Linked DNA regions of Homo sapiens: all the other regions are linked to region 1. Evidence: promoter capture Hi-C in 16 types of primary human blood cells and fetal thymus (Javierre and others, 2016). All regions are on one chromosome and are shown on one strand. The core of a region is centred on a gene start or on the middle of the fragment in contact, and the rest is flanking DNA. Distances in the headings are between cores, read along the strand shown. Region 1 holds the start of NOP58 (NOP58 ribonucleoprotein). Region 2 has its middle 6.1 kb from the start of CASP8. Region 3 overlaps CFLAR (CASP8 and FADD like apoptosis regulator). Region 4 overlaps NIF3L1 (NGG1 interacting factor 3 like 1). Region 5 overlaps BZW1-AS1 (BZW1 antisense RNA 1). Region 6 holds the start of KCTD18 (potassium channel tetramerization domain containing 18).

What was found. Contacts are between HindIII fragments. The CHiCAGO score rates a contact against its expected background, and 5 or more counts as called.
Region 2: a contact is called between a fragment that was not itself captured here and the fragment with the promoter of NOP58 in region 1, in 1 of 17 cell types (fetal thymus). The highest score is 5.4, in fetal thymus.
Region 3: a fragment that was not itself captured here is called in contact with the fragment with the promoter of NOP58 in region 1 in 1 of 17 cell types (fetal thymus); the score reaches 6.8 in fetal thymus.
Region 4: a fragment that was not itself captured here is called in contact with the fragment with the promoter of NOP58 in region 1 in 1 of 17 cell types (fetal thymus); the score reaches 6.8 in fetal thymus.
Region 5: a fragment that was not itself captured here is called in contact with the fragment with the promoter of NOP58 in region 1 in 2 of 17 cell types (total B cells and fetal thymus); the score reaches 8.0 in total B cells.
Region 6: the fragment with the promoter of KCTD18 here is called in contact with the fragment with the promoter of NOP58 in region 1 in 1 of 17 cell types (total B cells); the score reaches 5.0 in total B cells.

Annotation. Positions count from the first base shown.
Region 1 is chr2:202,263,109-202,268,076 of GRCh38, reverse strand. NOP58 (NOP58 ribonucleoprotein) reads right to left here and starts at 2,314. Exons shown (of 15, transcript NM_015934.5): 1 at 2,091-2,314. The coding sequence starts at 2,135. The HindIII fragment of the contact is 14,423 bases long and covers 1,175-4,968 here.
Region 2 is chr2:201,251,980-201,256,868 of GRCh38, reverse strand. It overlaps a transcript of CASP8 not described here. Among named protein-coding and RNA genes, the nearest start is that of CASP8, 6.1 kb to the left of the region's middle. The HindIII fragment of the contact is 6,710 bases long and covers 1-4,889 here.
Region 3 is chr2:201,117,807-201,122,895 of GRCh38, reverse strand. All of the region lies in intron 1 of CFLAR (CASP8 and FADD like apoptosis regulator), which reads right to left. Among named protein-coding and RNA genes, the nearest start is that of CFLAR, 4.2 kb to the right of the region's middle. RefSeq lists a silencer at 2,769-2,828 and enhancers at 3,937-4,306, 3,945-4,448, 4,797-4,846. The HindIII fragment of the contact is 2,552 bases long and covers 2,185-4,736 here.
Region 4 is chr2:200,899,386-200,903,820 of GRCh38, reverse strand. NIF3L1 (NGG1 interacting factor 3 like 1) reads right to left here. Exons shown (of 7, transcript NM_001369441.2): 6 at 4,353-4,435; 7 at 1-327. The coding sequence ends at 143. Among named protein-coding and RNA genes, the nearest start is that of NIF3L1, 12 kb to the right of the region's middle. The HindIII fragment of the contact is 580 bases long and covers 2,047-2,626 here.
Region 5 is chr2:200,806,546-200,810,886 of GRCh38, reverse strand. All of the region lies in intron 1 of BZW1-AS1 (BZW1 antisense RNA 1), which reads left to right. Among named protein-coding and RNA genes, the nearest start is that of BZW1, 3.2 kb to the left of the region's middle. The HindIII fragment of the contact is 1,234 bases long and covers 1,041-2,274 here.
Region 6 is chr2:200,507,653-200,512,115 of GRCh38, reverse strand. It overlaps KCTD18 (potassium channel tetramerization domain containing 18), which reads left to right and starts at 2,048. Exons shown (of 7, transcript NM_152387.4): 1 at 2,048-2,488. RefSeq lists a silencer at 1,816-2,275. The HindIII fragment of the contact is 2,465 bases long and covers 1,582-4,046 here.

The DNA.
Region 1 (4,968 bases), core at 1,065-3,564:
TCACAAAAATGTGCAGCCATCACTAGTTCCAGAACGTTTGTATGTCTTTTATACTCAGAAACGATCAATGTTAATTCCAATAATTACAAACTAATCAATGTCAACATATTCGAGCTTAACTAGTTATTTCTTTAGTACTAGGTTACATAAACCACAATTTAATCATTTTGAACAGTAACTTGCAGATAAATAGCACTGCAAACTCCAACGGAATACTCAAAGACATTTTCATGGAGGAGGACACTTTTCATTAATAGAAATCAGTAATTCATCGAGACACGGTTGAGTATTTTAGGACCCAGGTCTAGAAATCCGACCATTGATAAGCCAATTCCTTCCTACCATGGGAGACAACCAGTGCACTGTGCAGAGTTGCTCCTCTTCACATCCGGTACAGGACAGTATACTACGGCAATTAACGGTGAAATTCATCGATAGACACTTACAGACCACATTGGCTAAGAGAATTTGAAGCTATGCAGAACTCTACATGGTAATTTAGATAAGATTCCAAAAAGCTGGAGAAAAGTAAAATTGACATGTTTCGTAGCTCTAAAGGGGACTAAGGAGCTTACTTACAAGTTCCTTAAAACACTAATACGGCAATTGCAGATAACTCCAACTAAGGTAAAAACAAGCAAAACTGCCTTTTCGGTTTTAATGATTTTATTGGTTTTCTTAAAAATAACATTTGACGTATCAAATGCAAACTGCGTATTTTCAAATGTCAGAAGTGAAACATGGAGAACTCTGCACCCATCCAGACTTTCTTGCATCCACACCACAAATGGTTTTTTGGTTCATAGCTAAAATTGTATTACATTTATTTTTACCTAGCGTTTTTGCTTTCTACCAACATATATATATGTAGAATATACATAAAAACTTTATTTTTCATTGCTATATTCACAGACCTCAGAAGAGTTGCACCGCACAAGAAAAGGCACTCAATCTCACTCATTCTTCCTAACATCTCAACAGCATCTTGCGATACGAATGTCTTACCATTCAACCATTTCAGTGCTGACGAACTTGTCAAACTTTCCCCACGAAAACAACCAAACCTCAAACTGACATCACCAGCCCAGATGTTTTCCCCTAAGCTTCAAATCTGAAATACTGAACTGCCCGATCTACACAACTGCATTATCAGGTCTAATAGACAACGCAAGCTTCGCACAGCCCAAACCGGAAATCTTTAGTCCTTCCCCAAGAAACTTTCTTAACATCTTATTTAAACCAAAACCCCACATTCAATCTATTAGCCAGTCCTTCCTGTTCTACCTTCACAATTTCTATCGATATTTGTTTCTCTCCATACCAGGCAATTTCATCTTGTCCAAATGAATGCAAAAGTATTCTTGCTGCCGTTCTTATCTCCTCGAGTCTAATCTCCACACAGCAGAGTAACCGTATTAAGACAAATTAGCAGGTCATTCCTCTGCTTAAATCCTTTCGATTGGCCGAGCACGGTGGCTCACGCCTGTAATCCCAGCACTTTGGGAGGCCGAGGCAGGTGGATCGCTTGAGGTCAGGAGTTCAAGACCAGCCTGGCCAACATGGTGAAACCCCGTCTCTACTAAAAGCAAACAAACAAACAAAAACAACTAGCCAGGCGTGGTGGTGGATGGAGGCCTGTAATCCCAGCTACTCGGGAGGCCAAGGCAGGAGAATCGCTTGAACCCGGGAGACGGAGGTTGCAGTGAGCCAAGATTGCGCCACTGCACTCCAGCATGGGCAACAAGAGCGAAACTCCATCTCAAAAAAAAAAAAAATCTTTCGATCATTCCTCAAAACATCTAGAATAAAGTCCGAATTCCCTATAATCTGTTAAATTCTAACACGCCTCCTGCCCACCCCTTCAACGGGAGGAAATAAAATCCTCTAATGCAGAACGGGTCTCCCCAAACGGCGGGGCCACGTGTTACACGTAACATGGCTCTCAGGTGTAAAGGCCTTCTCCCTCCTCCCAGAGCCCGGGCTATAACAGGCACCCACGCTACTCTGAGTAGTTCCGTGCTTAAGTCTTTCCCTCTCCTCGTCTGTCCAGCATCCGCCTTCCCCCTTTAACGGCTCGCTCTCCCACCTACCTTAAAGATGGCGTAACCCACAGACGTTTCAAACAGCACCAACATGGTGAGGCCGGGTCAGGGCGCCGCACGGCCTGCCAGAAGCTGTAGAGTCAGTTCAAAAACACCGACTACGCGGCCTCAAAAGGCCTCCTAGGCCGCGGCGGGCAAAGCACAAATGCGCTCGCCGTCCCGCAAAGAATCAGAACACGCTGCCTAAACCCTCCACGCTGTACTGGAACTAGGACGCACGAACGCGCTACTCCTTCTCTGAGGATTCTGGGATAGCAACGTCACTTCCGACAGAAGACTGCCGCAGAGATTGCCGTCACTTCCAGAATGTTCCCGCCACAGCGGGCTGGGGCGGGCCGAGAAAGTTTGTATCGCGGGATCTAGGGCCTGAACGGAGCCTTTGCGCCTTTTTTTCTTTTTTCTTTTTTTCTTTTTTGGAGACGGAGTCTCGCTCTGTAACCCAGGCTGGAGTGCAGTGGTGTGATCTCGGCTTACTGCAACCTCCGCCTCCCGGGTTCAAGAAATTCTCCTAGCCGGGCGCAGTGGCTCACGCCTGTAATCCCAGCACTTTGGGAGGCCGAGGCGGGCGGATCACAAGGTCAGGAGATCGATCGAGACCATCCTGGCTAACACGGTGAAACTCCGTCTCTACTAAAAATACAAAAAATTAGCCGGGTGTGGTTGCAGGCGCCTGTAGTCCCAGCTACTCGGGAGGCTGAGGCAGGAGAATGGCCTGAACCCAGGGGGCGGAGCTTGCAGTGAACCAAGATCCTGCCACTGCACTCCAGCCTGGGCGACAGAGCGAGACTCCGTCTCAAAAAAAAAAAAAAAAAAAGAAATTCTCCTGCCTCAGCCTCCCCAGTAGCTGGGACTAGAGGCACACACCACCACGCCCAGCTAATTTTTGTATTTTTAGTAGAGATGGGGTTTCAGCATGTTGGCCAGGATAGTCTCGATCTCTTGACCTCGTGATACGCCCGCCTCGGCCTCCCAAAGTGCTGGGATTACAGGCGTGACCCACTAGGCCCGGCCTTTTTTTTTTTTTTTTTTTTTTTTTTTTTTTTTTTTGAGACAGTCTGGCTGTTGCCCAAGCTGGAGTGCAGTGGCACTATCACGGCTCACTGCAACCTCCAACTCCCAGGCTCAAGCGATCCTCCCACTTCACCCTCCGGAGCAGCTGGGACTACAGGCCTGTGCCACCACACCCAGCTAATTTTTTGTAGAGACAGGGTTTCACGATGTTGCCCAGGCTGGTCTCGGACTCTTGACCTCAAGGGATCCTCCCACCTCGGCCTCCCAAAGTGCTGGGATTACAGGCGTGAGCCACCGCGCCCCGCCACCGCTAGAGATTTAAAGGGGAAAAACTTCACGATATTATTTTGTTAACCCTCTATGAATTATATGTTCACTTTGAGAGAAACGAGGAGCTGTTTCGGTGCCAGTCTGCCTCAGGCATCTAGAATTTGAAATGCCAGCTAGTGCCATTAGACTTTATCCCCTTTCAAGCCCTGCCTTGAGGCGAAGGCCTCAGAATGACACCATTACTGTCACTATATTTGTGAGCATTCCTGGCCGTTCCCTTCTGTCTGGCCAAATGAATTATTAGCACAGTTTTCTTTCAATAAGCCTCTCCTATTTTTGCTGCATTTGTTAAAATGACCCCAGGGTATGAATTTAGAATGTCTTTTTTTTTTTCTTTTTCTTCTTTGTTTTTTTTGAGACGGAGTTTCACTCTTGTTGCCTAGGCTGGAGTGCAGTGGTATGATCTCTGCTTACTGCAACCTCTGCCTCCCGGGTTCAAGCAATTCTCCTGCCTCAGCCTCCCGAGTAGCTGGGATTACAGGCATGTACCACCACGCCTGGCTAATTTTGTATTTTTAGTAGAGATGGGGTTCCTCCATGATGGTCAGGCTTGTCTCGAACTCCTGACCTCAGGTGATCCACCCACCTCGGCTTCCCAAAGTGCTGGGATTACAGGCATGAGCCACTGTGCGGGGCTGAATTTAGACTGTCTTCTTGATTTAGTGTTACTTGCTTTTCTGGAAGCCTTTCAGTCTCAGGGACTGGGATTAAATACCCCAGTTGTTTCACAAGTCTGTCTTCCAACAGGGGTAAAATTTCCTTACTCACTTCCCAGGCCCTATATGCAGATTGTTCCTAATCATTAAATTGCAACCTGCTGGGAGAATTGCTTGAACCCAGGAGGCGGAGGGTGCAGTGAGCCGAGGTGGCACTACTGCACTCCAGCCTAGGCGACACAGCGAGACTCCATCTAAAAAAAAAAATTGCAACCTGCTCAAGATTGTGGAACATTAAATAGGTAGCAACTCTGCAACCTGAGATTAAGAGGAAAGAAAATCCTGGGTTGAATAACAGAAAGTCACAGGACAGAGGAATCTAGGGTGAATTCTTTTTTTTTTTTTTTTTTTGAAACGGAGTCTCAGTCTGTCGCCAGGGCTGGAGCGCAGTGTCGCGATCTCAGTCACGATCTCAGCTCACTGAAGCCTCTGCCTCTTGGGCTCAAGTGATTCTCCTGCCTCAGCCTCCCCAGTAGCTGGGATTACAGACACACGCCACCATGCCCAACTAGTTTTTGTATTTTTAGTAGAGACGGGGTTTCCCCATGTTGGCCAGGCTGGTCTTGAACTCCTGACCTCAGGTGATCCGCCTGCCTCAGCCCCCCGAAGTGCTGGGATTACAGGCATGAGCTACCACGCCCGGCCTAGGGTGAATTCAAGAGCATAATTGGCCGAGTGTATGGTTCACGCCTGCTATGATCTCACCATTACACTCCAGCCTGGGCTACTAAGCAAGACCCTGTCTCAAAAAAGAAAAAAAGCATGGTTGATTATAGTTACAGCTGTAATCCAGTGTGGTCAGGGAGACA
Region 2 (4,889 bases), core at 349-2,848, 1.0 Mb after region 1:
CAGCCATGAATTTTTAAAAAGGGTTTTCTGCCCTTTTGCTTTCACATCTTGTACATTTTATAACCAGAACACCAGCAATAACACATTACCTATATGTTGCACCTTGACATGAACTATCTCTAATTCTGGCAGCAGAATTCTCTAATTCAGGGTATTGTTCTCCCATGTTATGGATGAGGAAACTAAGACTCAGACAGTTACATGGAGTCAAACTCAGTCCTGCTGAGCCAAAAACAGAGATTTTTCTATGACATACTAACTCCCTTTCTCCAACACTTCAAATTTGGAATGAATCATGTGGATGGAAGAGCAACAAATTTAAACTAATAGTGACTGGTGCATAAAGGGCAGAAGGTCCTTGGTTTCTCAGTCACCTAACAAAAAGGAGTTGGCCTAATAAAGGCACAAGCTAATACTTATCAAACCATTGGCGTATGCCAGACACAGCCACCTAAACTAGCTCATTTCCACTTCTGAACAGTTCTCAGAAGTGGATGCTACGATTGGTCCCATTTTATGGATGAGGACACTGAGGCTTAGAGAGGCTGAAAGACTTGGCCACGCTCAGTCAGTGAGTGACAGAATAAGGTCTGTTTGTCTCTAAAACCCTGAGTGGTTAGTCACCACCTAAACATTAATGCATAGCCATGAATCTCAATCTGACCCACCTCAGAATTAACTGTAACATTTCTAAAAATATGAGTCTTCCAGCTCCAGCTTTGGAACTCCTATCTGAGCAAAACTGTGGGAGATAAAACAGCTGGAGCACTTAGAATAGTGCCTGGGCCTTCCACATTTCTCAATAAATAGGCTGTGGGTGCAGTGGCTCACACCAGTAATCCCAGCACTTTGGAAGACCAAGGCAGGATGATCGCTTGAGCCCAAGAGATCGAGGCCAGCCTGGGCAACATAGGGAGACACTGTCTCTGCAGAAAATTTTAAAAAATTAGTCAGTTATGGTGGCATGCATCTGTTGTCTCAAGCTACTCAGGAGGCTGAGGTGAGAGGATAACTGGAGTGTGGGAGGTCAAGGCTGCAGTGAGCTATGATCACACCACTGCACTCCAGCCTAGGTGACAGAGCGAGGCCCTGTCTAAATAAATAAATAAACAAATAAATAAATATTCACTACTATGTTATTTAAGCTCACAACATCTCTAAGATGGCTATAAATTATTAGGCTTACATACAGATGATGCAATTAAATGCAACATCAATTAGCTGACAAATGGCAGGGCCAGTGCATGAACTCAGGAGTGTCTCACTCAAAAGTTTCTGCTCTTAGCCCCTGTACACATCTCCCTGCATGTACCCAGGCCCAGCCTAGCAGAAATGGATGATCTGCTGGAGGCATCTGAGGAGCAGTACTGAGAATGGGGGGAGCAGGGTAGGAGTGGGAGTCTCAGGGCTTCAACTTGTGCCATTTGTAAGGCACTGACCCTAGATTCTCCCAGTGTGTGTGTATATATATATGACTGATAAATGAATTATGGCCAGGCACAGTGGCTTACCCCTGTAATCCCAGCGCTTGAAGAGATTGAGGTAGGCGGATCACTTGAAGCCAGGAGTTTGAGACCAGCCTAGCCAACATGGCAAAACCCCATCTCTACTAAAAATACAAAAAAATTAGTTGGGCATGGTGGCATGTGCCTGTAGTCTCAGCCACTCAAGGCACGAGACTCACTTGAGCCCAGGAGGCGGAGGTTGCAGTGAGCCGAGATGACACCATTGCACTCCAGCGTGAGTGACAGAGGGACACTCCGTCTCAACAAAAATAAAAAGTGTTAATAAGTGAATTATAAACCTCAGGTTGGTTGAATTCCTATTGTGAAGCACAAAGATCATTATTACTTCATTTGCTGTAACCAACTTCTCACCCTCATCTTGAGACATGTGCCTGTGTGACTGTTTATATCAGAATTAATAATGTGCATGGTCCTTAGTCCCAGGGAAGCTGAAAGATCCGGAGGTGTTGCTGGAGCTGCAGGGACATGGAGAGCTGGCTCCTGCCCAGCACAGAATGAGGACAGGTCTGCTTTGACTCAATCTCCAAGTGGTTTCCACCCTCTAGAATCTCAGCTCCCACCTGGAGGCCTGGTCCTGAGACTACTGTGTCTCCTACCATGTCCACCAGCCGGCTGAAAGCAGATTTGGACCTGTAAGTGTCCCTAAAAAAGCCAAGAAAGACCAAACCTCAGCTCAACTGCAACACACCCTTCCCATTCATCTTGATGTGACACCCTTCAAAGATAAACACTCACAGTGAAAGCAAAATCCCCTGAATGTGCATGCCCTTTGTTTGTTGCCAATGTGGGAGTTTGTATATAACCCATGGGCCAGGATGGTGTGGTTTGTGGATTCAACGGGGCCGCTCCCCTTTCCTTGACTGGCAGCTGGCCTTGGCTACTGCCCTAGACTCCTCCTCCAGAGCGTGGCAAGGGAAGGGAAAACAGATTCCATTCACATCTATCTCATTCCTTTCTGGGCCTTGTAGGGAGAGGCTCAAAGAGTTGTCTAAGACAAAGATTTTAGCAACTGGGATTTTAAGTTTTTCTTTTGGTATTAAAATGATCAGACAGTCATGGGGCATTTACAGTTACTGACCTCAATCTGCATACTCTGCAGCTTGTTGATTGCCAATACCTACCCCTTCTGCTTTCTCAGAAAAACTACTGCAGACATGAATCCGTACCACGGATTTAGAAAGGAAGAAATTGAGTTTGTTAGACTCTGATTCCAATATTCATGTCACTGACCTAGCTTTTCCAGAATTTTTTTTTTTTTTTTGAGATGGAGTTTTGCTCTTGTTGCCCAGGCTGGAGTGCAATGGTGCAATCTCGGCTCACCGCAACCTCCGCCTCCTGGGTTCAAGCGATTCTCCTGCCTCAGCCTCCCGAGTAGCTGGGATTACAGGTGTGTGCCACCACACCCAGCTAATTTTGTATTTTTAGTAGAGACGGGTTTTCTCCATGTTGGTCAGGCTGGTCTCGAACTCCCGACCTTAGGTGATCGACCCACCTCGGCTTCCCAAAGTGGTGGATTACAGCTGTGAGCCGCTGCGCCTGGCCCAGAATTTTCTTAAAGGTTTGGGCATAGAAGAGGTGAGGATCCCCAATATTCTTGAGGCACTATATGCCCATACCCAAGAAATGGGGCACCTCAGACGCTAAGAATAATTGTCAAGAACCATCTTTTAAAATGTATTAATTGTGGTAAAATATATATACCATAAAATTTACCATTGTAACCAGTTTTAAGTGACATCAAGTACATTCACGTCGTTATGCAACCATTCCCACCACCCAGGAGTCACTTTTAATGATATAATAACAGTGCATTTGTTAAGCACTGTGCAGTTTTAAAGCATTTTCCCTATTTTATATCATTAGATCCTCACTGGTAACATTTTTTGGTCTCAGGGGTAGAAGAGCATGTGTCTTACAGACAGGAAGACGTTGAAGAAACGAAAGCTCAGAAAAGTGAAGTGACTCTGAAGGGCCTACATAGCTACTGTAACCTACATACAGCACTAGTGACTGTTTCTTAAAAAAAAAAAAAAAAAAAAAAAAAAAAAAGATCAGGCTAGGTGCAGTGGCTCACATTTATAATCCTAGCACTTTGAGAGGCTGAAGTGGGAGGATCACTTGAGCTCAGGAGTTTAAGATCAGCCTGGGCAACATACTGTCTTTACCAAAAATCAAAAAAATTAGTCGGGTGTGGTGGTGCAGTGGTGGTGCACACCTGTGGTCCCAGCTACTCAGGAGGCTGAGGCAGGAGGATTGCTTAAACCCAGGAGTTCAAGGCTGCAGTGAGCTATGATTGCATCACTGCACTCCAGCCTGGGGGACGGAGCGAGCCCCTGTCTAAAACAAAAAAAAATCAGATGTTGGGAGGGTTATTCCCTGAAACAGATATTTTCTCCATTAGGTTTCACTCCTCACTTTCTGTAAAGAAAATTCCTTTTTTTTCCCCCTCCATAATAAGTGGATTTTAAGAGTATCTGTGGTAGTAACAAAACACATTCACTACAAAATGAATTAGGCAATTATTTCTTTCCTCAAAACTGTTAGTGATAACACCACGTATTCTCAGTAGATCTAGAAGGTGGGTTATAAAATTAACTTTTCGTGGTTTACAACATATGACACAAAATCCTAGTTTCTGAGAAAATGAGTCATCTCTCACCTGACATGACATGTTGTTGTGGGGGACCAGATGTTCTTTGAGATCCCCCTTCAAAAGATACAGTTAAGAGTGAAGAGACAAACCACAGATTGGGAGAAAATGTTTGCAAAACAAAAGACCGTTACCCAAAAGCGTACAAAGAACTCTTAAAACTCAACCATACTGGTGGATCACGAGGTCAAGTGATCCAGACCATCCTGGCCAACATGGTGAAAGCCCGTCTCTACTAAAAATACAAAAATTAGCTGGGCATGGTGGCACACACCTGTAGTCCCAGCTACTCGGGAGGCTGAGGCAGGAGAATTGCTTGAACTTGGGAGGTAGAGGTTGCAGTGAGCCAAGTTCATGCCACTGTACTACAGCCTGGTGACAGAGCGAGACTCTGTCTCAAAAAAAAACAAAAACAAAAACAAAAACCATGCTGTTATCCAAAAATATACAAAGAACTCTTGACACTCAACAATAACAAAACAAACAACCCAATTGAAAAGTGGGCAAGAGATCTGAACAGATACCTCACCAAAAACATATACAGATGGCAAATAAGCATATGAAAAGATGTTCAACATCATATGTCATTAGGGAATTGCAAATTAAAACAACAGTGAGATACCACTACATATTTGCCAAAATTGCTAAAATCCGAAACACTGACACCACCAAACATTGGCAAGGATGTGAAGTAACAGGAACTCTCATTCATT
Region 3 (5,089 bases), core at 2,211-4,710, 1.1 Mb after region 1:
AGTATCATCCCCACTTCAGCCCAACCCATAATCTAACTCCGAACCAAAAATATCTCAATGTTCCCTGGACAGTATTTTTCTGTCCCAGCAACTTCACTCAAGCATTTGCCTCCATTTGGAAAGCCCCTTCCCTCCTCTCAGTCTGTACCTGAAATTATATCTTCTCTCTCAAGATGTCTCTTCTATAAGCTTGTCTTGATCCCCAAATCAAGTCTCTCTTCCTGCTTTGTAGCACTATTTGTGTTCTCTTCCAGCATTTTATCTTATTCTATCCTATGTGAGACTCAGTTGAGTACTGTCATATGTGGAGGTCCTTGGGGATAGATAGGCTTTTACTCATCTTCATTAGGCTGTGGTAAACAATGGCCAGGGCTGCCAATCTCAGCCCTCTTGGGTCTTGAACAGACTGGTCATCATTGGACCATTGCAGCCCATGTGTAACGCTTACTCATCCCTTCATAACATACAATGAAGCAAGATGGAGCTGGTGGTGTAGTTAAGATACCATACTTGGAATCTGGTTGTTGGATCCAGAAGAGCTTGTGAAAGGAAGCTTTTGCAGCTACATGAGATAACAATGCTAATGCTTTAGAGTGACTTGCAATGTGATTCTAAAAGGATGGGTAAGCCCCCATGCAAAATTTTCTGGAAACTGGCAGGACCTCATTGTGAGTGGGGAGAATACAATGTCTCCAACCAAGGGGATGTTTGGAACTCATCATCAATTTATTACCAGGCTTCAATTTATTTGATAGAGAAAAATGAGAACAGGTCAAGCTGCCTGAGTTTAAGCAAGATGTAAGATTTTAATGCTTCAGCAATAACTGAGTTCAGAGACCAGGTCTCAACTTCAGGTAGTACGAAGAAGACCTATGGCTTAGCCTCACTTCTTTTTAGGTATCTAAACCATCTGATGTCACCTTTAGAGGAACTGGATGTCTAACTTCATGCAACAGCAGTCAGGAAAACAGGCATTCCTTCTCCTCAAGGTTTTGATCAAAGGAATAAAAAGTGGCTCAAGAAACAACCCCATCTATTCAAGAGAATAGCATACTATCAATCATGCTACACTACTGCAATAAAATATTTAGGAGACGTTCTCTTAAGTTCATCTAGACAAGATTGGCTTAAATTAAATTTCAACTTGGCAGGTGTATTTGCTCAGTTTACACAACAGATTCTCCATTGTAACTAAAGGGCCAAACTTGGCCCTTTGGGAGATATCTCTATTCAAAGTCAGAAATTGTACATAACACTAGGGATATATAAAGTTCTTAAAATTACTTTTATATAGCATTCATTTTCTGTAAAAAGCACTACCTGCTTTTTGCTCTAAGAAAATCTGGAAAATAGAGAAAAGTAGAGAAGAAAATAAAAATTCCCCACTTGCTTCAGTCTCATCACCATCCCTGGTACCTACTCATCTGTCCCCTAGTTTCTCATCTCTTGCCTGGGTCCTCGTTCTAGGTTCCTTTACATTCCTGGTGATGGCCCAGGTTAAAGGGATAGACTCATTCTACATTTAGGCTGAATGATAGCCAGCACGTTTACAGAAAGCCTAGGCAGACAGCAACTGATATAGTGTCTCCTCTGGGGGTATAGCTTTGTGCTATATACAACTTGTCTGTGCTACCACATATTTTATTAATAGCTACATCACGGAGCACAACCTTATAATTACTTACCAGATTAAAATAATCCAGCTTTATAATTATTTGCCAGATTAACATAATCCAGCCATGGCTTAGAAAAGAACTCAAGTATAAAATCTGAACTATGGGGTTTCAATAGCATACCATGGCCAAGGTTTTGGGTGAAACTTTTGCGCTGCTTCTATGTTTTCCAACCAGAAAGGGAGCTCCAGACAGCAGAGGGAGATCTACATGCCCCCATTCCTCAGCCCCAGCAGGTGCTCAGTAAATGCTGAAGGAGTTACTTTTTTCATTTAACTCTTGATTCAAAGTTGTGGTTATTGTTGCAGGGAATTTGGTTCACTCACTAGATAGTATTCAAGCAAGAGACTGTCAGGTACCTACTCTTTTAAACAATCTCATTGACTTTGAAAACTACTTTTGAAAGCTGCAAGTAAAAACAAACAAAAAACACAGATATATAAGCCAAAGGGAAGATAAAAAGGAAGTTCAAGGAAAAAACTCAAGAATTTCACAAGTAGATAAGGAAGCTTTGGTTCCCATTTCTAAAGTCACATGACTAAAGAAACTCATTACCCTGGGAAGCATTTTTAAACCTTGGAGTTAAGTAACTATGAGAGGATTTTTCAATTACATTTTTAAAAGTATACAAATATACATATAAATTATTCATTTCTTCAACTTAAGAGTTCACTGCAGAAGATACAAATTATCATGAGTATGCAGATGAAAGTGGTATCAAGTGGTGTAGCTTCTCTCTTTCATAATAAGTACTAAATCACCAAAGATGGCAACCCAGTATCGAGAATAAGAGAAAAATAATGTAGAAGATGTTTATCTATTTGGGCCAAAAACTTAAATCGCCAAAAAAAGAAAGTGGCTAGAAGTGGAGACCATCAGAGGAACATAAATACAGAACAAGTGTAGAAAAGGAAGCAATTTTCACAGGAGAATCACTTGAACCCAGGAGGCAGAGGCTGCAGTGAGCAGAGATAGCACCACTGCACTCCAGCCTGGGTGACAGAGTGAGACTCTGTCTCAAAAAAAAAAAAAAATGTAGCTGGGTGTGGTGGCACACACCTGTAGTTCCAGCTACTCCAGAGGCTGATGTGAGATGACTGCTTGAGCCTAGAGTTAGAGGCTGAAGTGAGATATGATCACCACTGCACTCCAGCCTGGGCAACAAGCAAGACCTCATCTCAAAAAAAAAAAAAAAAAAAGAAAAGAAAAGAAGGCCCCACCTTGAATCTTTTTTAGAAAAAAGCAGGTTGTAAATAAACACAATTTTAAAAAATGAAATATCTTGCAAACTAGAAAATAAACCAAAAAAATTGAGTGTTTATTTTTAAAAATATGTAAAAGACTGTATTTGAGAGCGCACATGTGTGAAAAAAAAAAAAAAAACATTAAACTGAAACCTTTGGTTATCTCTACGGAATGAACCCCTGGAGGTTTTCTCTATTTACTTTGCATGTATTTTAACTCATAATTATAATACAACTTGACTGAAGAGTGTCTGAAGAAAATGCATTACAGTACAGAATGTTAGGTACAATCCTGAAGCAAGTGCAAAGACAGCCGCTGAGCATATGAAAGTACAGAGAAAGGGCACCAGGGTGGGGTGTCAAGTCTTCTGAGGGGAGATGACAGGAAGAGAGTATAAGGGAGAGACAGGGCATTCCAATAATGATAGTGCTTTTCACCTCACTGATCTATAGTAAGAAAGAACGACCGGGTTCTGCAAGTTACCTGGGCATACTAAAAGAAAAGACAAAACAAACAAACAAATAAACAAAAAGAACCCATGGTGTCATAACTGCCCCACCATGGCCCACAGGCTTCCTCCAGTCAGGCTGTCAGTGGATCTTGTCTAAACTGCCTTGACTCGAAGTTACCTGTGTAGGTAACTGCTGAGTCTTCCTCAACCACATTGTGAGGTTATGGGGACAAGAACCAAGTTTAGATCCATTTCTATGTCCTCGGCACCCAGAACTCTGCCTGGCCCAGAGAAGCTCAATAAATGTTGGTAGGATTATACTGAATTAAAGGCAAGGAGGCATTGGAGTCCATAAACACGAGTTTAATTAGCCCCTGGGGCTCTACAGGGAAGAAATAATCAGACTTCAAGGGTGCCCCATTCCCCAGAGTCCATTCCTGGTATTTGAAAGAGCAACATGCCCCGGAGTGTTGTGAGTCCTCTGGAGGCTCAAGGAGACCTAGGGCCAAAAGCGAGGACTCAATCCTTTTCTGCCAGTATCGGGGGACAGTGCCCCGACGTCCCAGGAGCCCAGGGCGACACCAGCCCAGGGGCGGGGATCGGGCAGGATTCTCGGTCTACTCACGCCCGGGCAGCCGCCGGCTCTTCCCACTGGATCTCCGCCGGGACCAACTCCCACCCTCGCCGGACAAGCTCAGACCTGCTGCTCCGCAAAACCAGAATTGGAAATGCTCCAGATGGGACGAGGAACAAGGACAGAAAGTCAAAAGCATCAACAGGTGGCTTCGCCGGAGGGCGTCCGAGAACCTCTGCCTGCTGAACCGCTTCACGCCTAATCCCCGCCACCCACCGGCTGAAATGTTACCACACAAGACATAAATTCTAGAATCCTGTCTGCGGAATTCCCCGCCCCCCGCGCAGTTGAAACTTGCACAGGGCCACTCGCGTGTCTCTGGGTGGTAAAATTCTCCATGCGTGGTCAAACGGCTTATGCATAGCTCAGGACCGTTACGTGCGACCCCACCAGGACTGAGTGGGGACAGCCGCTGCGCCCCCACCACCTACTAGGAGCTGCGGTAGGACCTCCAATGCCCCAGGGGCCTAGGCAATTTCCGCTTCAGCTTCCTGGAGGTCCCCAGCCCAAGGCTCAAAAAACTGCACACTATCCGGCCCACCCCGGGTCGCGCAAGACTTTCGGGGGGAGGGGGAAACCCAGCGACCCTGCAAATGGCTTCACCTTGGAAACCGGTATAAGGAAGCAAGTAATACCGTGTTAAAAGAAGGTCAAATGTCAGTTACAAACAGAAACGTAAAACATAAAGTCGCTAGAGAAAGCCATTTTAACGAGGACATTTGACCCAAAAGCTTAAGTAAAGCAAGTATTAACAAAACAAGAAAATGGATGTAAAGCAAACAGTAAACATTAAAAACTCCCTTTCAACCCAGTCTTTTTTGTTTAGATCTTGGAGTTGGGCCGGGCATGGTGGCTCACGCCTGTAATCCCAGCACTTTGGGATGCCGAGGCGGGCGGATCACCTAAGGTCAGGAGTTCGAGACCAGACTGACCAACATGGAGAAACCCCGTCTCTATTAAAAATACAAAACTAGCCGGGCATGGTGGTGCATGCCTGTAATCTCAGCTACTTGAGAGGCTGAGGCACGAGAATCGCTTGAACCCGACAGGCGGAGGTTGCGGTGAGCAGAGATAGTGCCATTGCAT
Region 4 (4,435 bases), core at 1,087-3,586, 1.4 Mb after region 1:
TGGTGAATAAGATTAACAAACCGGAAATGATGATACCCTCGAAGACACTCTCTGGAAGCACACCAGTCCCACTGACTCATGTTACAAATTTAAGTTGGCATCCAGCTGATTTGTAGAATGTGTTATCCTGATGTTTCTGCAATTATACCACCTGAAGAGGGTCCCTGTCAGTCTCTGATAGGATAATATTTATCTTATTCTCCAAGTGAGAATCCAGCATATCTCGAAGGTCAGAAAGAAAGCCTCGTTCAGTGTTGCTGTGTTCACAGAGGATGACATTTATTCCTTGGGAAGCAGCATCCAAAGTATCATGATGGGACATCTCACCTACCAAAAAGGGAAGAGCAAATTCTTAAATGCTAAATATGGAATCTGTGGAATGAGGAAACACAAAAGCAGAAATACCAAGTTTGTAGTCTATATGAAGTGAATGTAATAGAGCAGAACTGTTTTACATATAAATCTAGAAAGTAGTGTACAGTTTTCTTTTATGTCCTCCAACTTAAAAAGAGAGAAAAGTCTGGGCGCGGTGGCTCACGCCTGTAATCCCAGCACTTTGGGAGGCCTAGGCAGGCAGATCACCTGAGCTAAGGAGTGCTAGACTAGCCTGGCCAACATGGTGAAACTTCCATCTCTACTAAAAACACAAAAATTAGCTGGGCGTGGTGGTGCGTGCCTGTAATCCCAGCTACTCAGGAGGCTGAGACAGGTGAATAGCTTCAGTCCAGGGCCTGGAGGTTGCAGTGAGCCGAGACTGCACCACTGCACTTCAGCCTGGGTGACAGAGTAAGACTATCTTGAAAATATAAAAATAAAATCCATCCCACTGAGAATTCCAACTTCTTTTTCCTTAGCAGACCCCAAGGCAATTATCCAATCCAACATATCTGGCCAGAACCAGATCTGTAAACACCCATTCAAAGTGTTTCCACGGTAAAATGAATGATCACTGCCAAGTAAAATGAGGCCTTCAGAAAATTTGCCTCTTATGTAAGTAATAAATACCTCTGGAGGAAATTATATGTATACTGCCCAGCAGACTTATGCTTTGTAAGCACCAGTATTTCTGTCGTCAACTTAGTCTAATATATAAGGATGAAATGAATTTAAGATTACTTCCAGGTTAAAAACAAAGTATTTTTCTTTGACTTAAGCAAAATCCCTAGAAACTCTGGAGGGAATCTCATCTGTTGTGAAAAGATTTGGGGAAAATTCATATTCTGAATTTTTAATTTATATTGTTAATTTTTTTTTAGATGGAGTTTTGCTCTGTCACCCAGGCTGGAGTACAGTAGCACGATCTCAGCTCACTGCAACCTCTGCCTCCTGGGTTCAAGTGATTCTCCTGCCTCAGCCTCTCGAGTAGCTGGAATGACAGGCACCCACCACCATGCCTGGCTAATTTTTGTATTTTTAGTAGAGATGGGGTTTCACCACGTTGGCCAGGCTGGTCTCGAACTGCTGGGCTCAAGTGATCTGCCCGCCTCAGCCTCCCAAAGTGCTGGGATTACAGGCGTGAGCCACCATGTCCAGCCTAATATTCTGAATTTCTTAAAATGCAGTTTGTGAATTTGATGACTTCTAATTTAAGAGCAAAACTGTACTGTGTACAATTAGGTTTGTTCTTTAAAAAGTACAATTTTGAACTGTATTTAGAGACAGAAGGGCATATAAATTTAAGAAAAAAGGGTTCTTGGAAAAAAATGAGTTCTCTTTTAATTTTCCCATAAGAAAACACCTATAAGTAAAAAAATGAGTTTTCTTAATTCCAGAATTTTTTAGTTCCCCACAATCTCCTCCTAATAAGTGTCATCTCATTATAAGGAACAGTTTTTATTCAAGCACCTTTTAAAACATCTTAATCTATAATAGTAGAAGTAAAAAGCAAGAAAAAGACACTAAGATGGCCCAGTTGGAAGCCTTGTTTTAGGAAAGGTAAGTCTGGCTGCCTGTACTGTGACAAATTCATTGGCTGGAGAAGGCATGAAAGGGGGGAAATCAGTGAAGACCCTGCAATAATAGCTGAAGCCAATGGAAAGAAAAGCTTGGCCCAGGATGGCAGCTTGGGAAAGAATAAGCAAATGGAGAATGAAAAGACAAATGGGAGAACTTAATTTACAAGGAGCAGGCTCCCCATCTGCTGGTCTTACGGGGTATTACCCTTAACAACCTAATACAATGAGAACACGGCCTCAGGCTCACAGGAAGCGTGATGAAGTTCAGCAGAGGTCCTTTAGGTGGGGCTTCACATCTCTGAAGTTATACTCAAAAGTGATGCCTCACAGACCAGAGACAGCTAATGCTAGCCGGATAATATATTTTCTATTTCTCCCCACAGCCAGATAGGAAGGACATTTTAACATTTTGGAACTGCTTGAATTTATCTTATGCACGTATCATTATACTTTATCATTGTTTTAAAAAACTAGTTTTTAAAAAAGTATAAGGAAACAGATACCCCAAATTGAGAGAGAAGCACAAAACAAAGAGCCTATACTCTTTAAAAATGTCAATGCTATGGAGACAAAGCTGAGAAACTATTCCAGACTGAAGGAGACTAACAACAACTAAATGCAATGTGAGATCATTGGCTGGATATGGATCAGAAAAAGAAATGCTATAAGCTTTTATCAATTGGGAAAATGTGAATATGGACTGTATATCAAGTAAGTGTTTTAACAATATTAAATTCCCATGTTTGATAATTGTTCCATGGACTTAGAATGTCTTTGTTCTTAGACTATACACTGAAGTATTGAGAGGTAAAGAAATTGTCATGTCTGCAATTGATTACAAAATGGTCCTAGGGGAAATACATCAATATATATATAGAACATATTTTAACTTGTATATATTATGTATCTATACATGCAAACACAAATGTGTATAGACACATATATAATATGCACATAGGGAATGTACAAATATGGCAGAATATAACCATAGTAACCAAGGTGAAGAGCATATAGGAGTTCAGTATACTATTCTTGCAACTTTTGCATAGGTCTGAAATTCCTAAGTAAAATGCTAAAATGAATTTTAAAATAGCCAGACACAATACTGTAAGATATTCATATTGAAATTTCACTTTAATCTGGTAGAAATTTAAGGGCTTACAAAAATCTTTTATCTTCAGAAAATATAAAATAAGTAATAGTCACATACATGTTTTGTTTTTTTAAATCAATTTATTGGTTTAGAGCAATTCCATCAGGCTTGCTCAGATGCTGCTCCTCGGTACTTCAGGATGTGACAATGCTTTGAGTGCAGCAGCCTTTGTAAGAGAGTGTGCTATATAACAAAGTGTGGGTGTGGGAGGCAAGGGAAGCATGGAAGTAGCCAAAGGAATGGCCAGAGGGCTAAGAGCCTAGAGCCTGGTCCTCAAAGTGGGAAAAGTAATTCTTTAACTCATTCTCTCCTAACCCTAAGAAGGAGGAGGTAAACAAAGTGGCAACCCCTTAAAATGCCTCCAAATCCTTTGGAGGTGTAAGGGGCCATGTTTGGCCATATTCCTGAGTAGTAACTACATAAAGTAATTCTTTCAATAAAAATTAGCCAGGACCTATTAGGTAGTATCCTAAATGAGAAAGTATAAGGCCCAGCAGCCAGACAATTACTATCCAACAGAAGTGCACATTGGAGGTCAAGGACAAAGTGATAGGGACCCACAAGAGGCAGGAGCAGGACAGTGTCAGAGAAGGCTTCTCAGAGGGGGTGTTCACTTATCACTAGGAGTACAAGGAAAAGGCATTCTAGCCAGAGAAAACAGCATAAGCAAAGGGTACAGGAAAGGGGATGCAATGTTCAGGCTCCACCAGACAGATGAAGGAAATCACTGAAGTCTTTTTAATCAAGACCATCAAATTTGCACTTTGAAAAGTTAATTTCAGGAGAGTATATGGAAGATACCATTAGAGGGTTGATGCTGTACTTCAAGTAGGAGATGGTGCCTGGATAGAGATAAGGGGGAAGATTCTAGAAAGATTTGGGAGCTTGAATTGATAGGAATTGATGATTGGCTTTAGGCTGAGTAAAAGGAACCATTTCCTAGCTAAGGTGACAGGGTAGAAAGTATCCCACTGATGTGAAATCTGAGAGGTTTGGGACAGTTTAGGAAGAATGTAGGTAAAATAAATGCTGACCATTAACTTTTGAGATAATGTAATAAACTGTTCAATGATTTCATCCCTCCACAAAGAATGCAGTAAGTCCCCAGTTCTGTTGTAGTTTCTGTTTAGTTCAGGTTCAGAAAACATTAATTAGGTATCATCTATGTGCCAGGTACTGTCCTAAAATTTGCCATTTTTGATTTTGCAAAAAATAAACCAAGAGAGATCCAAAGTCTGTCCTACCTGTGAGGTAAAGGTCAGCCTCAACACCCTGCAGAACGCTGCTCCCAGAACCAGCACACAGGGCCACGACTTTGACTTGAGAC
Region 5 (4,341 bases), core at 408-2,907, 1.5 Mb after region 1:
CTTCCCTAAACCTTTTGATAAAATAGTTTGTTGACTTCTTTTCCCTAATTAACTATCTGACCTCTACCCCACCCCCCCGCAACTTCATGGAAAAATGACTTTCTCAGCGTTCGTTCCTGAAATTATTGCCAAACCCAGTGTTTTATTCTTCACCCTGTTTGCCTCCTCTGAGCATTGAATGTTACCTACCTCTCTCCTTGAATCCTGGCTCCAGCTATCCTGGTTACGTTCTGAATGTGCCTTTGCACGGTATTTTCTGACTCTTCTTTTCTGTACTGATACCTTTTCTTTCTGGATACTTTCTTCTATGGCAGTCTCATACATTCTCAAGGATTTAACATTTACTCCACTTAAAAGAGTTCCAAGATCATCTACTGAATCATTAAGCAAATATTTGTTAAATCCAGGCTCTATGCCCTTCCAAGTTGAGGCAACAGCAGTGGGAAGGAGGCAGGAAACAAACTGCATCTGTTGGAGGAACTGCAAGAAGCTAGTGTGATTGGGAGGGCTGTGGGGAGCAGAGGGAAGTGGCTGGAGTCTGATCTCTAAGTGTCTAGCCCCTTCCTTTCTCCCAAGGCCCCAGTCCACACTATCTGGCATCTTCACTTCATGGCTAATTTAACACTGTCAGTGCTGTCAATTGCTCTTCCCCCAGAACTGTATTTTTCACATCTGAAGTTCTGTTAAAGGACAACGTTTCACAAATAAAAATGATAACTAATATGTCCCTATATGTATCAGGCCCTCTTCTATGCACTTTATGTAGTAACCCCATTTCATCCTGAAAACTACCCTGTAATCTAGACACTATTATTAGTCCCATTTTACAGATGGAAAAGCCGAGGCATCGAGGTCAGGTAACTTGTCTAAGATCATAGCGCTAGTAAGTGGAAGAGGTCCAGTTGAACCCAAGCAGTCTGGCTTCACCATTATAATGCACCGCCTTACCACCAAGATCTTATTTATTCATTCAACAAATATTTATTCAGCTAGAGACCAGTAGAGATAGTGACATGTTACGCCTATGGCCTCACAAAGCTTATCTTCTATTTTTGCCACGTTTTAAAATTGTATCATCTTTCCCCAGTACCATCTTGATTTAGGCATCTATTACCCCTAACTAAATGGGACTTTTGCAATAACTTCCTAACTGTACTATCCCCTTTCTCAACATTTCCAGAGCAATCTTCTCAACTGCAAGCTGAATCATTTCTCTTCACTGTTTAAATGCCTCTGTTTATACTCAGGGATAGCTCTGACCAATGTTTTTCACCTTTACTTCCCATCACATTTGTGGTTCTTAACCTGTTATTACCATCATTGTGGGGTATGTAGCAAATGATTTTTGACTAAAAATGATATTAAAGTAAGCAGATTATTTTCTTTAAAATGTAAAGTGGATTAAAGGTTTTCCTGAACTCCTGGCCTCAAATAATCCTCCCACCTTGGCCTCCTGAAGTGTTGGGATTACAGACCACACCTTGCCACTTATCTTTTCTCTGCTTTTGGGTGCACCCATGGGAATAGGCACCGTGCAGCTAGCAGGGGAAACGTTGTTTGTGAATTGTATTATGGTAGGAAAAGGTTCCAAACAATTGAACTCTATGCTTTGGTCAGACAGGACACATCTTGTCTTGACCTTTCTTGAGATGTCCTTCCCTCATTTTCCACTGTCAAAATCCCACTATTGTTTCAAGCCTTATCTCAACTACTGCTTTTTTCCCATAAGCCTTTCTTAGTCATGGATGTGAACACATTCCTTCTTTGTAATTGGGCTACAGGCATGAGCCACTGAGTCTGCTAATTTTTTTTTTTTTTTTTTGGTGATGATGGGGTTTTGCTTTGTGGCCCAGGCTGGTCTCAAACTCCTGGCCTTAGGTGAGCCTCCCGCCTCAGCCTCCCAAAGTGCTGAGATTATAGGTGTGAATCATCACGCCTAGCCTTGCCCAGTTTTATGGTTGTTTTGGGAAAAAGGATATGCTGATTTCTTCACTCTGCCATTGCTGTGAATCCCCCTTAGTACTTTTGGATTTAAAAATTTTGAACTACTTAAAAAGAAAGGTGCTAAGTGCAACATGTGAATGTGCTACTGCTTTTAACTTCATTGATGGGAATGGATACCTAAGTGTTTCTTTTTTAAAAGCAAGTGACAATAGGTTTTTATTCCTAACAACTAGAAGAATATCAAGGGCCTGTTTTGAAAAGCACATTGTTGCCCTTGGAAAATGAGCTGGGGGAAGTATTTATTCCTATGCTTTGAGTCTTGTAGAAGCTTATAGAACATCCTATGAACCTGGCTTAAATATTGTAGCATATGTATATGAAATACTTCTAGTTACACACACCTATATATGTATGCATATATTTATGTATGTATGTGTGGCCAGAAGTATTTTCATAGGCTCCACAAAATTTTTACAGTGAAAAAGCTTTGAGGTACAATGAGCTTTTAAATAATTTCATTTTAGGTAAAAAATGTGTTAAATATCATTCACTTGCTACATATCTCATATATACCATTTCTTTTACTTCTTCATAGAATTATTTTAATAGTTATAATTATTAATAATATTTGACATAATCAAGATAAAAAGCATTGCTTAGTTACATTAACATTTTAGTAATATTTGTTAAATAAATACCCTCTTTTAGCAAACACACTCTATTATTTAGATTTTAGTTTTTTTTTTTTTTTTAATAGAGACAGGATCTGGTTATGTTGCCCAGAATGACCTCCAACTCATGGGCTTTAGCAATCCTCCCACCTCTGCCTCTCAAAATGTTGGGATTTATAGGCGTGAGCCACCACACCTGGACTCGATTTTTGAATAGGCCGAAATAATTGGGAAGCTTAGGGATTCAAGAAATTTGGCATACATGCATTTTCTGTTTCTCTCTCTCCCCTCTTAACATCAGAATAATGACAGGTTAAGGTGAAAACTCTTTGCTCCTGTAAAGTGCTTGTTCAGAATATAGTTTGAAGTGAGTTGCCAAATAAGTGATATTTGGGGTGATTTAAATATGTGCATTCTAAGTTATATAGCATTCAAGACATTCATTAAAACGAAGCAAAATAAAAACCAACAAGAGAACAGTGTAATGGCATGTGGTATGTTAGCTATAGGATTGTTTAGAAAAAACTGTTTACTGCTTATTATTAATAGTTCATATCTCCTAGAATATTACTGCAGAACTGAAGATTAAGAAATGTTACTAAGAGGCCGGACGTGGTGGCTCACGCCTGTAATCCCAGCACTTTGGGAGGCCGAGGCGGGCGGATCACGAGGTCAGGAGATCGAGACCATCCTGGCTAACACGGTGAAACCCCGTCTCTACTAAAAATACAAATTAACCGGGCGTGGTGGCGGGCGCCTGTAGTCCCAGCTACTCAGGAGGCTGAGGCAGGAGAATGGTGTGAACCCGGGAGGCAGAGCTTGCAGTGAGCCGAGATCCCGCCACTGCACTCCAGTCTGGGCGACAGAGTGAGACTCCGTCTCAAAAAAAAAAAAAAAGAAATGTTACTAAGGACGCCAGATCCAAACATCTCTGTGTTGGAAAATTATCTCCAATGCATAACGGTTTCCTTGGCATATTTAGATGGCCATCTTTCTTTGATGTCTTTTTTAAAACCTACATTTCATTTTTTGGGAGCCTCAGTGCGATGGAATTTTTTTTTTTTTTTTTTTGAGACGGAGTCTCTCTCTGTTGCCCAGGCTGGAGTGCAGTGGTGCGATCTTCACTCACTGCAACCTCCGCCTCCCGGGTGCAAGCGATTCTCCTGCCTCAGCCTCCTGAGTAGCTGGGATTACAGGTGCGTGCCACCACCCCTGGCTAATTTTTGTATTTTTAGTAGAGACGGGGTTTCACCATGTTGGCCAGGCTGGTCTCAAACTCCTGACTTCAAGTGATCCGCCGGCCTCAGCCTCCCAAAGTGCTGGGATTACAGGTGTGAGCTGCCGCGCCCAGCTGATGGAAAGTTTTTATTTAAGATGAAAAAGCAACTAAACTAAATAGAACTTAATCACTGCCTTATTGCTATTATTAGTAGTACTACTGCTATTACTTGGTATGTACTACTATTAGTAGTAATAGAGTGGTCACAGTAGACCTTAAATTTATAGAGGATGTTACTGTTTACAAAATATTTTCACATGCATTTTATAATTCTTCACAGAAACTTTGTGAGAAAGTAAGGCTGCCTTGCTTTCAAAGCAAGCTAACTATAGATAGAATTGATGATTATTAGTCTTCCAGAACAAGGCCATGGACTACCATTAAGTAAACTTAATGTCAATTTATCTGATAAGAAAAAGTGGAACCTTTTTTCTAATGATACATTTC
Region 6 (4,463 bases), core at 799-3,298, 1.8 Mb after region 1:
ACAACTTTTCCTACTTTTCCTTTCCTGTTCTCCACAAGGGTTGAAACTGTCTAATGTCTTTCCTAATTCCCCTCAGATGCTTCCCTGTTATTACCTCACAGGTGTTCCCTTCAATAAATCTCTCACATGTCTAATCTGATAATATTGTTTGCTTCTCAGGGGATCCATATTAACACATTGTATTTGATCCACCAACAAATTTTATGTCATGTCTATCTCCTGAGTACCCCTCTTGCATCCATCCACTTCTCTTTATTGCCAACACTACTCAAGGAGGAACTAAGACATTTCTCCCCTGGATTATTGCAATAGTCATCTACTTCCATCTCACACCTTTCCAATCCATTCTCATCTCAGTAGCTGCAGTGATTATTTTTTTTTAATAGTAAATCAATTGTGTCACTTCCCTGCTTAAAACCTTTCAATAGCTTCTCATTATGCTTACAGTCAAATTAAATTTCTACCATGGCCACACAATACTTTAGAGTCTGGGCTCTTGCCTCTCTCTTCAACCTCATCCCATCTCATCTTCCCCTTTGTCCTGATGCCCACCAAGGCTCAGACATACTAGTGGCCTTTCTCTTCCTACAAATTGCTGAGTCCTTTCCTGCCTGAGGGGCTTCCGACTTGCTCTCCCTTCTTCCTAAAATACCCTTCCTCCATCTCTGCAGAAGGTGGACTCATTCTGACTCCTAGCCCTCAACTTAAATGTCCACTCATTTCCTCGCACCTAGTTATCACTCTCTGTCACCACTTTGCTTAGTGTCTGTTTCTCCCACTTGAACAAGGGCAGGCAAACTATGGCCCATGGACCACCATTTGTTTTTGTCTGGCCCATGATCTAAGAATGGCTTGTACATATTTAAGTGTTTGAAAAAGCTGCATTTTTAAAAGAATATTTTTTGACACATGAAAATTATGTGAAATTGGAATTTCAGTGTCCATAAAGTTGGAACTAGCAATGCTCATTTGTTCAGGTTTTGCCTATGCCTTCTTTTAGACTACAACTGCTGAGTTGAGTAGTTGTGCATGGCCCACAAAGCCTAAAATATTTACAGAACAAGTTTTCTGCATGTTGTACTGGAAAGTAAGGTTGAACGCCCATTATTTGTCTCTTCCAGTCCTTTACTCTCAGTGCTTGCTCCATAGCTAGTGCTTAATAATTACAGGTTGAACAAACCTTCCCTCTCTCCTAAGACTGTTAATATCTAAGGGGATAGGTTGACTTACCTCTCTTTGGCTTATTCTCTTCTAAGAGCCAGTCAGGGAAATTTGGAACCAAATATTTTTGATTTTGGGGAAGCACCTTGAAAACAGGACTGTTATATTTCTCTTGAAATATCTAGCACAGTACCTTGCACAAGGTAAGATGGTGCTAGAAACTGGAAGAACTGTTTTAGGGTTATCGTTAACAGGAAATTAAGTAGTGCATGCAAAGCACTTAGCACAGTGTCAGGTGTACAAAAGTGTTGAATAAATGTTTGCTCTCGCCTCAATTTTCCTTGCTATAATGGGAAATAAATATCACCCTTTATATCACTGTCACACAGACTAAACAAGAATGCTGTGTGTGAAAAAGCTTTGTAAGCTGCAGACACTATCCAGATAGACTTATCCAAGTGCAATATATTAACACACGTTGGCACTGAGCAGCCCTGTTTGGAGGGATGGGCACTGACCTGGGGGTGAGAACACTTAACATCCTAATTCTTGCCACTTATTAAGTGACCTTGGACAATCGCAACTTCTGCGGCTGTTTCTTCTCTTCACCTGTAAAACCAGCCTCTGAACACACAAGACCGTCCCTTGGGGTTCAGCCCTGGCCTTCTCTACCGTGTGTTTCCCTTACCTCCGGGATGGAAGACCCACCCGACTCCGAGGCGGCCCACTGGGGCGAGACGAATCTGGGGGCGGGGCGTGGCGTGGCGTGGCGTGCCCGGGACGTGGCCTCCCTCCCTCCCTGAGCCGCTGCCTCAGAGCCGGGCCGCACGGGGGCGCCGCTGGGGCCGCTCTGCTCCCGAGTTGCCGAGCAGCTGAGAAGGCGTTCACTTCCGCGTCCGCCCCGCGGCGTCCGGCGGCCGCGCCGAGGGTCTGGCGGGCCGCAGGTCAGTCTGGGAAGCTGCCGACCCGCCCCACCCCCCCGGTGCGGAAGAGCCGGGCGCGGGATGGGCCGCGGGCCCGGAAGGCGGCGGGGCGCCCTGAGGAAGGGCACGGGCCGCGCTGGTAACGCGCGCGCCCCGGGCTGCAGGCTCGGGCTTCGGGCCGATTTGGGGTCTCCAGGCCGCGGAAGACCGTGGCGGGGCTTTCTGGCTCCCCAGCTCCTCCCGGCTCTTCCCGCTTCGGAAGAGGAGTGTGAGCCCCTTGAGCGATGTTTTTCAAAGTGGGGTTCGCGGGCAGATCCCGACCCCTCCTCAGACTTTCTGAGGAACTGTGTGCTGTGGCCGGAGTGTCTTCGTTTTCCCAAGCGTCCCTGATGGTTTTGATGCAGGTGATCATAGGAATGCACTCTGGGGGACATTGTCCCCGAGGGCTGGACACTTTCCACATAGCAGGGAGCCTAACTGGGTGCTTTTGAGGATGGGGCCTGCGGAGTGCCCCCCTGGTGTGGCCTTGGAATGATGATGTTCCTATCCTTAGGAGAGACTGCCTGGGGTTGGGGTAGGAGGAGTAGCTCTTAAATCCTCGGGATCGGGGTGCTGCTGTGTTATCGTAGCCAAGTCTTGAGATGGACAGATGCTTAGAGAGTGAAAGGGCTGGGTCAGGATCCATAGGGGTGAAACAGTGCTGGAGGAGGCGGTGTGGGGTGAAGCAGGAAGAACTTGGGGTTCGTCCTGCCGTTCTGGATTGGGGCTGGCTCCACAACCTACTAGCAGTCAGTCCTTGTGTGGCCCCTGTACACATCACTCTTTTTTTTTACCCCAATGGCCTCATCTGTCAACAGGGACAGTAATTCCCATCCAATAGAGTTTTTGTGTGAATTAGGTAAAGTGTGTCAAGTGTCTCTTACAATGGCTGGCACATAATAAGCATTCAGTAAATGGGAGTTATTAAGAGTGACACAGGCCCTGGCTTCCTTGGCCTACAGACCAAAAAGTAGGGATTAAACAAGTGGGGTAAAAAGTGGACAGACACACAGTATATTTGTAGAATTGTGCAAGGATTCTAACTTGGGGGGCAGAAGGATACGTGGGACGGTCATGCAAGAAATTAGGTTTGCTGAAGGCCTTGAAGAATAGATAGGATTCCAGGGAGCCAGTAATGAGGCAGAGGGAACAAGTTCCATCCCATGCCTCAGAGGTGGCTCTCACACATGGATCTTTGGAGTGCTGCTCCCAGGACTTCTAGGCAGTGCGAGATGTCACATCCATAAGTGGTTTTGGAAGGCTGGACCTTTGGCCCATAATGGTTTCTGTTGCTGACCGTATTCTACACACATGGTCTTCCTCAGATTTTAATGGTCTCCTTCCATTTTATTGGAGACTAGCTGGCATCTACAAAACGATCTTAGTTGTTCACTGAGTAAAAGTGAATTGACATGGATGTAGTTGAGCCTTTTGGCAGCCATTTTCAACTTGCTATGAAATGTGTGGATACTGCAGATTCTCAATAATTGGGAGTACCTTTTTCATCACAGTATTGTTTTAGGTGGGAAAACACCACAGTGTCACTTGTGGTTCTGTGATCTCCAGAATGGATTAAAAAAATCCAACCCTTAAACCTTCCCTGGGCCTGGTGCAGTGGCTCACGCCTGTAATCTCAGCACTTTGGGAGGCCGAGGTGGGTGGATCACCTGAGGTCAGGAGTTGGAGACCAGACTGCCCAATATGGTGAAACGCCGTCTCTACTAAAATTACAAGAATTAGCCCGGCATGATGGTGTATACCTGTGGTCCCAGCTACTCAGGAGGCTGAGGCAGGAGAATTGCTTGAACCCGGGAGTGAGCCGAGATGGCGCCACTGTACTCCACCCTGGGCTACAGAGCGAGACTCCATCTCAAAAAACAAACAAGCAAACAAACAAAAACCCCCCAAAACTTCCCTAAAGCTTCATCCATTTCACAGTGAAGAAGCTGGATGATTTGGAGGTGTTATTTGTAGTTCTAGACTGGCCTGGCTACTGGTCTACATAGAATTCTGATCTCAGGCTGGGCGTGGTGGCTCATGCCTGTATACTCAGCACTTCGGAAGGCCAAGACAGGAGGATTGCTTGAGCCCAGGAGTTCAAGACTAGCCTGGGCAACACAGCGAGACCCTGTCTCATTTTTTAAAAATTTAAAAAAATTAAAAGAAGAATTATAATCTCAGTTGATAAATTATATATTCCTTAGTTACCTAACTTAAGAATTATAGTTATCATTGTTAATAATTCCTGCTCCTTTATTTCCTTACATTTCCAGAGTCAATATCAAGTCCCTCAGTAGACACCTTATGGTTAAATTTATATCATTATGCATAATATTTATA